2 separate regions of the Homo sapiens genome follow, and region 1 is linked to region 2. The links are contacts of gene promoters, found by promoter capture Hi-C in blood cells and fetal thymus (Javierre and others, 2016). All regions are on one chromosome and are shown on one strand. Each heading gives the region's core, a stretch centred on a gene start or on the middle of the fragment in contact. The rest is flanking DNA. Distances are from core to core; before and after follow the strand shown. Region 1 has its middle 13 kb from the start of LINC01895. Region 2 holds the start of DLGAP1-AS1 (DLGAP1 antisense RNA 1).

Region 1 (4,330 bases), core at 647-3,146, 230 kb after region 2:
ACAAAGCTGTCTTCCTGGGTCTTCCTCATCTTTTCCCTGGGGGTACTGTTCACATCCTTCTTTTGTTGGATTCCCTAAATTCAGTGTCTTCTTCTTTTAGGTTCTTTCGCTTATTTTGGTGGAGTACTTCCTCTAGTATCTTTCTGGGAAAGCGTACTCAGAGATCAATTTTTTGAGCCCTTGAACATCTGGAGAGATCTTCATTCCAGTCTCATATTTAATCAAAATTTGACTGGAAAGAGAAGTCTAAATACAAATATCATTTTCCTGTGAATTTTTATGTTATTTTATTTTATTTGCATACAATGTAGTCATTAAGAGGTCCAGAACCATTCTAAGACCTGTTCCTTTCTAAGAAATCAGATTTTTTTTTGTGGAAGTTTTCTTTGTTTTTGTTTTTAGAGATGGTGTCTTGCTGTATCACCCAGGCTAGAGGTGTAGCCTCAAACTCCTGGGCTCAAGTGATCCCACCCTCCCAAGTAGCTACAACTATAGGTGCACACCATTATGCCCGGGTAAGTTTTAAAATTTTTTTGTAGAGATAGGGTCTCACTATGCTGCCTCGGCTCGTCTCAAAATCCTGGCCTCAGGCAATTCTCCCACATTGGCCTCCCAAAATGCTGGGATTACAGGTGTGAGCCACCATGCCCAGCCCTGTTTGGGAGCTTTTAAGATCTTTTAAGTTCTTCATTCTTCACAATGATGTACCCTAAAGTCTTACTGTAACTATGCTTGGCACTTTGTGTGCTCTTACCGTCTGAAAGCTCTTTTTTGTTTTTGTTTTTGCTTTTAAAATTGAGACAGGCTCTTGCTCTGTTACCCAGACTGGAGTGCAGTGGTATAATCATGGCTCACTGTGGCAGCAAACTCCTGGGCTCAAGTGATCGTCCGACCTCAGCCTCCCAAGTAGCTGGGACTACAGGTGTGTGCCACCACACTGAGCTAATTTTTAAATTTTTTTGCAGAGATGAGGTCTCCCTATGTTGCTCAGGCTGGTCTCAAACTCCTAAGCTGATGTGATCCTCTGGCCTCCCAAATTGTTGGGATTACAGGTGTGAGCCACAGTGCTGGGCCTGAAAACTCTCATAGGTCAGTTTCAGGAAATGTTCTCAAATTATTTCTTTGTTGTTTTCTCTCTCCATTATGTTCTGTTCTCTCTTTCAAACTCTTGTTATTCATTTGTTGGACTTTCTGGTTTGATTCTCTAATTTTCTTATCTTTTCTCTTTCATTTTATTTTCCTGTGTCTTTTTTTTCCTACTCTCTGAGAGATTTCTTAAATTTTATCTTCCATCCGTTCTAGTGAGTGCTATTTTTTTCTTTTTCTTTCTTGCTTTTTTTATTTTTTTTGAGATGGAGTCTCACTCTGTCACCCAGGCTGGAGTGCAATGGCGTGATCTCGGCTCACTGCAACCTCTGCCTCCCAGGTTCAAGCAATTCTCCTGCCTCAGCCTCCTGAGTAGCTGGGATTACAGGTGCATGCTATCATGCTGGCTAATTTTTGTATTTTTAGTAGACATGGGTTTTCACCGTGTTAGCCAGGATGGTCTTGATCTCCTGACCTCGTGATCCGCCCACCTCAGCCTCCCAAAGTGCTGGGATTACAGGCATGAGCCACCGTGCCCGGCCTGTGAGTGCTATTTTTTAAATGTTCTTAATTGATTCTAAGATGCATATTTTTCAGTTTATAACCTCTGTGATCAGAATGTACTACATAAATAATGAACCGTGACAATGACCATTGTTCAGGCACCAGTCACAGCGTCATTGCCATTGCCCGTGTATGCACAAGCTTGCCATCTCCTCAGTTGAGTTACATGCATGGTTGATGCCACACATGTTGATACTACATGTCAGGAAATGCAACTGAAGGCAGTAAAAATGTCAAATCATTTGGAATAAATGAGAAAACTTTCAAAGCAACAAGGAGTTGGTATGACCAATTTGTGCATTGTACAGGTTTATCATTGAAGCATTGAAACTTAGTTTGTCAGAAGCTTCCTGCGGACCTTGGACCGAAACACCATGACATTCAGTGATGTGATTCAATGGAGAAAAAGTGAAATGATTATTTAAGTTAAATAAAGCCAAATTAAGTGCTAGCTTCAAAATTAAAAAATTGGTATCAATAGCTTAGAAAAAAATCCCTGACACACTAGTGGAACAATTGGCTAAAATATAATGCATCATCAATACTCTTAATGATATGGAGAAAGATATTAAATGGGGAAAAAACAATGTCAATAATTCTGAGCTGGGAACTGGTTTCACAGGACTCACACTTTAAATGTGAAGATGTTTATGAATTCCTTAAGTAAAGTGTTTTGCTTATTTTTTCTTTTATATATACAAACAATGGTGATGTTTAATACATTTATCTCTAAGTAACATTAAAAGATTTTTTCAATGGGCAAAACTTGTTATGTTAAGCAGTGTCATACATTGGTTAGCGGTTTTGTGTTTTTTTTCTTTTCTTTTCTCTTTTTTTGAGGCAAGATCTTGCTGCTCAGGCTGGAATGCAGTGGCATGATCATAGCTCACTACAGGTGTTTACCACCACACAAGGCTAATTTTTATCTTTTAATTTTGTAGAGATGGGGTCTTTCTCTATTAGCCAGGCTGGTCTTGAACTCCCAGGCTCAAGCAATCCTCCTGCCTTGGCCTCTTAAAGTGCTGGGATTATAGGAGTGAGCCACCGTGCCTGGCTTTCTTTTTTTAATGGTACAGAAAATAATTGGGTGTCTTATAGTTACAGGCATCTTAAATGTGGGTATTTTAATTTTTTAAGAGTTGGGTTGCTGGGCACGGTGGCTCACGCCTGTAATCCCAGCACTTTGGGAGGCCGAGGCAGGTGGATCACGAGGTCAGCAGTTCGAGACCAGCCTGACCAACATGGTGAAACACTGTCTCTACTAAAAATACAAAAAAATTAGCTGGGTGTGGTGGTGGGCGCCCGTAATCCCAGCTACTTGGGAGACTGAGGCAGGAGAATCACTTGAAACTGGAAGGCGGAGGTTGCAGTGAGCCGAGATTGTGCCACTGCACTCTAGCCTGGGCAACGAAAGCAAAAACTCTGTCTCAAAAAAAAAAAAAAAAAGAGTTGGGTTTTTCCTGAAAAGTTTTTTGGTGACATCTTGTTTCTGCTGCATGGATAAAATATTTGTTCATCTCTGTGAGAATGTTCCTGATTTTTTTTAAGTTTTCACTTCTATGTATAGTCCAGGTTTCCTCTGAATTGATTTTTCCCCCCAACTGATGTTTAGAACTACAACTTTCATATGAGAAACTCCCCCTCAGATGTCTGATCATCCTTGGCTTCCTGTCATTGCATAAAATTTAACTACTAAAAAGCTGTTTGAATACTTTGCATATATGGAAGGGGGCTTGGGCTTGCTTGGAGGCTGAGCTTCTTCAATGAGGGCCCTTCCACACCCTCAGTTTCAGGATTTTTAGGTATGTTTCTCTCATGCTGATCAGCTTCCCCAGAAGAAAAAAAAAAATCGATTTCTTGCCTGGGGGGTTTACACCTGACAGCCAACATTCAGGAAGCGACTTGCACACCCCCCCACCCCTCAACAAGGTGGGGCTCACTCCGCTGAAGATTTAGAGGGAGGGTCCTAAGGATGTACCCAACCTGTTCCATTCCCTCCTTTATGTCTCTTCCAGAAGGCACTGCCGTGCCATTTCCCCGGCTGCCTTGTGCTTCCCGCGGGAAACCAAGCTGCCTTACGGGGAGCTGAGTTAGCTCACCACTCTTTCTGCTTCCGGCCTTTGCTCTTGTCTTCCCTCCTGTACTCTTGGTTCTGTGTGTTTACAGCTTTTGTTTGTCCCTTTGTCATAATTTCAGTCATGTTTCTGGAAGGAGAAGCAGTAAATGTGTGTGTTCAGTCCACTGTCCATCAACAACAGAATCTCCTCATATTCCCAGGCCGATTGGCATATTTTCAAACGAAGTTGTATAATTTGCTTTAAGGTCAACGTTTGTAGGTGATTATTTTCTTTTTTTCCTCCTCACTTCATTCTCTCCAAAGCATGATCATTTTACTTGGTTTAACTTCACTTTCATTTTTATGAGAGTCTGGCTCTGCCGCCCAGGCTGGAGTGCAGTGCTGCGATCTCGGCTCACGGCAGCATCCGCCTCCCGGGTTCACGCCATTCTCGCGCCTCAGCCTCCCGAGTAGCTGGAATTGGAGGCGCGCCCCGCCCAGTCCAGCTAATTTTTACATTTTTAGTAGAGACAGGGCTTCACCATGTCGGCCAGGCTGGTCTCGAACCACGGCCGTCAAGTGATCCGCCCGCCTCGGCCTCCCAAAGTGCTGGGATTACAGGCC
Region 2 (4,547 bases), core at 1-2,500:
AGAAGTTTTAGACCTCAGCCTCTGGCCCTGGGCCTTCTGAAATGACCTTCCTCCAAACACCATTTAATTTCCGCTAACTTAGTTAATGAATGGAACTTTCTGAAGACAGCAGTTACTTTGATCTGAACCCCTTTCCTAGTTTCCAGTTAACATAGCCAGAGGGAGACAGAAGGGGTGCCCGCCTCTCAATGGGTGCCCTCTCCTCCTGCGTGGCTGGAGCAGCTCCCAGCTGTAGCTATTCCTCTAACGCAGAGAGAGCTGCAGAAAGCAGTTCCCAAAAGGAAGAAGGCAAGTTACAAATACCGCCGTTGGCATTTTCGTGGGTGTTTCCCGCCACATAGAGATAAAAGCTTTGAGGTGGGGCTTTGAGGCACACTCTCTGGGTAGCTGGGCCTGCAGTCTGGAAATCCTAAGTAATCCTTGCAAATAGGCTAACTGGAAGCCAGCAATACAAATGAGCAGTGCTTCTGGCCTGAGAGAAAGGTGTCTGCATTCAAAGTACAACTTCAGATAAAAATGGAAAATGCCAGTCCCACCCTGCAGGAATCCTGTTTCTGGGCTGTTTATCCTCACTGCCATCCACCCTACCCTTGGCTGTGACTAGGATGTGAAGAAAGAGATTGGGTGGAAAAGGCTACCGCAGCTCTTGCTCCGTTTAACTCACCACCTTAAAAAACATGGCCTTGGCTGCTGCTTTAAAACAACAACAACGAAAATCCCCAGCCCCAACCCAGAGGTTTAACCCTGCAGCTAAGGTGAAGTTTTTGTTAAGGTGATAAGGTAAAAAAGGACGCCATTCTGAGCCTTGACTTCCACTCTTCATACTTTTCGGAAGACAAGTCCAGCAAAGACCTCCACCCCTTCCAAAGAGCGACTTACCTCGTAGCTGATCCACAGATTGCAACGTACAGATGTGATGTTCCAGGCTTGGCCACAAGGGGACACTAGAGAGTAGGACTGCCCGCGTCAATGTTTTGTTTTTTACAGACTTTTGGTTGGGAGGGAGGGAGGGAGGGAGGGGGGTGTGGGAGTGGTGGGGGAGATGCTGGCTTTAAAAAAAAGTCCATTTGTTCCCTGAGATTGTGCCACTTGCCCTTTTATAAGTCAAAGGTTGCCACGTTACCTGTTGCCAGGTTCCTGAGAGTGCTTGGGGAAAATGTGGGCGAGAGAGGCACAGCACAGTCCTCCGGCTTGGTAGGTTTCAAGCTCTTTTGACTGGGCTGGCGCTGACATTTGCAGGGGCAGCTGCTGTGGATTGCCTGCGCATTGTTTGGCTGTAGTTCTAACAGAGGAGTGGCTGCGTCTGACATCATTTCCAGGCATCAAGTGCCTGGGGCTTTTTTTTTTTTTTTTCTTTAATGACGAACTCTCTGACCCCTCCCTGCCTGGATTTTTGTACAGTACATGCACTGTGCAAAACAGCCTCCACTCAGGAAGCCCAAGTTTTGTAGCAGCTTGTTGAAACAACTTGGGTGCCTTTTAAAAAAAATAAAGTTGTGACTCTGAAACAAACCTTTCCATTCTTCCTCCTTGCTGAGAACAATGTTGCGTTTGATTAGCAGCGCAGCCAGTGCTTTCTGAAAGATCTGCTCTCCCCAGAAGAGGCGGCTGCTATCAGTTGAATAGATCTCTAGGCCAGACATGCCGAGGCTTGGGGCATTTGTCTGGCGTTAGGAAGTGTCTGGAATACTAGCAACTACCAACTGGCGTGTCTTATGACTACAGGAATTATTACACTACCCTCCATTTCATTCACATCCCCTCTCCTCCCCTTACACACACACACAAGCATATTTTTTTCTACTTTAGAAAAAGTTGAGCGAGTCATCTTGTGGTTTCCGTGGAGGATGTAACTGGGAGAGAAGACTGTGGGATACCTTGTATCTCCCAGAGGGGGGCCGGGAATCATGGTGTATGACCCACCCCAACAGCCTCTGATCTCTGCCTTCTCACCACTGACCGCCACGCTTTGGGTGGCCTTAAATGTGAAGCTGTAAATATTTTGAAATAAGGTAGTGATTTTTCCATGTGCATTTTGTTTTGTGGCATTTCTCTCCTTCTGCAATATTTTAAAAGTTGCAACTGTGCACCCCTTGTTGACCACTCCAAATTCATTCATTCACTGAAACTTAAGAGTTCCTGCAGAGTGAGGATGGCTGTGCACGAAGGAGTCCCTCGTGGAAACCACGGTGCTTTAGTGGACAAGGTGTTTACTAGAGAGTGTTTACTGGCGGGGGGCGGGGGAGATAAACAAAGGTGGTTTGAGTTAATGGTCAGATGGGAGTTGGAGCCCTGAGTACTCTAACTCTGTCACTGAATCTCTAGATGAGTTAGGGATGTCCGTTGCCTGCTCTGAGCCTTAATATTTTCATCAGTTAAATGGGGATAGTGGGATCTTTCACATATGTGAGATCATGTCTATTTTCTTCTTTTTCTTTTCTTTTCTTTCTTTTTTTTCTTTTTCTTTTTCTTTTTCTTTTTCTTTCTTTCTTTTTCTTTTTTTTTTTTTTTTTTTTTTTTGAGGCAGGGTCTTGCTCTGTCACCTAGGCTGGAGTGCAGTGGCACAGTCATGGCTCATTGCGGCCTCCACCTCCCAAGCTCAAGTGATCCTCCCACCTCAGCCTACCGAGTAGCTGAGACTTCAGGCGTGCACCACCATGACCAGCTAGTTGTTGTTGTTTGGGTTTTTTTGAGACGAGGTCTCACTCTGTTGCCCAGGCTGGTCTCCAACACCTGGGCTAAAGCGATCCTTATGCTTCAGCCTCCCAAAGTGCTGGGATTACAGGTGTGAGCCACCACACCCAGCCCCCATGTCTATTAAGTTCTTAGCACAGTGTCCAGTACACAGAGTAAGGATTTGCTCTCTGGTGATTAGGAAGATCTAATGGCATGTCACGGGTCTGGACTGAATCTCATCTCATCATCTTTGTTGTTGCCAGGGTTTGCGCATTTTTGCCGGTGGAGGACTCCAGCCAGACCGCTGATTTGTCTGGCATTTGTTGGAAAGTCCGGCCAGCATAACACATCACCGCAAGGAGCAGGAGCCCTATGATGCACTGTTAAGTGCACAACTATGGGGTCTGCTTGGCTGGAAGCAGCAGCAGCAAACTTGTCTATTAGTTATTTTGTCCTCATCAGTGCCAGCTGCTTTCCCAAGATGGCAGAACATTCATCATTGCTACCAGACAGCCTCGTTGGAGCTCTTTCTCTGGCCTCCTTTTTTGGCTTCTTTCTTCAGCTCTTCAGCATCATTCTCTGTGGGACCCTCCCTAGTTTGCAAATTCTTGTCTAAATTTCACTCATTATCATAACCATCCAATTTGAAAGAAACCTTGTCATCTAGTTGAGCCCCCTATCAGATGTTGGTACAATTGCTATAGCCTCCCAGCCAAAAGATGTGCTGGTCTGTGCTTGAACAGGTCCAGGGGCTGAGAACTCCCTCTGTTATGAGGTCCTCATATTCCTTCTATGGACGGACAATCAATGCCTGGAGAATTATTCTTTATGCCTCTCTGAGCCCTTGCCTTTGTTGTTCCTTTGGGGACTTATACAAAACAGGCCCATGCTATCCTCTAAGCAAGAGCCCTCCAAATAATTGAAAACCCCCCTTTCTTCTTTTCCAAATGAAACACCCCGTCTTTTTATTTTTATTTTTTGTTTTTTATTTTTGACGTAGTCTTGCTCTGTCGCCAGGCTGGAGTGGTGTGATCTTGGCTCACTGCAACCTCAATCTTTTGGGCTTCAGCAATCCTCCCGCCCCAGCCTTCCAAGTAGCTGGGACTACAGGTGCCACCTACTTGGAAGGCTGGGGCAGGATTCTACCACTCCTGGATAATTTTGTGGAGATGGGTTTCACCATGTTGCTCTAGCTGGTCTCAGACTCCTGAGCTCAAAGAGATCCTCCCACCTGGACCTCTCAAAGTGCTGGGATTACAGGAATGAGCCACCGCAACAGGCCTAGGTCCATACTTCTAATCCTACATGCCTTTCCTGAAATAGACACCTTACCTGACATTACAACCATAAGTCCAATCGTTCCCATTCTGTATTTCTACAATAGAAATACATTTATGTCCCCAGTTTAGGTCCTTCCAAGTTTCTTTTTTTTCTTTTGGCCTCTTCACATCATTTTGTTTTCTAAAATAGCCTGTGGCTTCAAGTTACCTCTTGAATATATTCTTAATCTCACTTGTACTACCTCTGCCCTGTTCCCTGGATTTGCAAATGTTCTTTTCAGTGCTTCTCAGCCTATCTCTGGTAAGGGACCAGTTTGTTTGTTTGCCCTCAATCTGCTGCAGATTAGTGCTTTGGTAAAATGCAACAAAAAAGAATTACTAGAAAGAGGACTTTTTTTTTAAGACATACAAAAAACAAACCCATAATTTTTGTTTTGTTTTGTTTTGTTTTTAGATTCAACAGGTAAAACACTCTATAAAATTGCTATAAAAGTTTCTAAACACTTACATTCAATTTTCTTTGTTTTTTTTTTTAGACGGGGTTTCATTCTTGTTGCCCAGGCTGGAGTGCAATGGCACCGTCTCGGCTCA

The links. Contacts are between HindIII fragments. The CHiCAGO score rates a contact against its expected background, and 5 or more counts as called.
Region 1: a fragment that was not itself captured here is called in contact with the fragment with the promoter of DLGAP1-AS1 in region 2 in 1 of 17 cell types (activated CD4 T cells); the score reaches 5.5 in activated CD4 T cells.

The regions. Positions count from the first base shown.
Region 1 is chr18:3,361,158-3,365,487 of GRCh38, reverse strand. No RefSeq gene overlaps it. Among named protein-coding and RNA genes, the nearest start is that of LINC01895, 13 kb to the right of the region's middle. The HindIII fragment of the contact is 205 bases long and covers 1,794-1,998 here.
Region 2 is chr18:3,590,817-3,595,363 of GRCh38, reverse strand. DLGAP1-AS1 (DLGAP1 antisense RNA 1) reads right to left here and starts at 1,250. Exons shown (of 3, transcript NR_024101.1): 1 at 1,124-1,250; 2 at 880-944. The region is part of intron 7 of DLGAP1 (DLG associated protein 1); the gene reads left to right. RefSeq lists enhancers at 1-78, 1,491-1,610 and a silencer at 199-493. The HindIII fragment of the contact is 5,788 bases long and covers 353-4,547 here.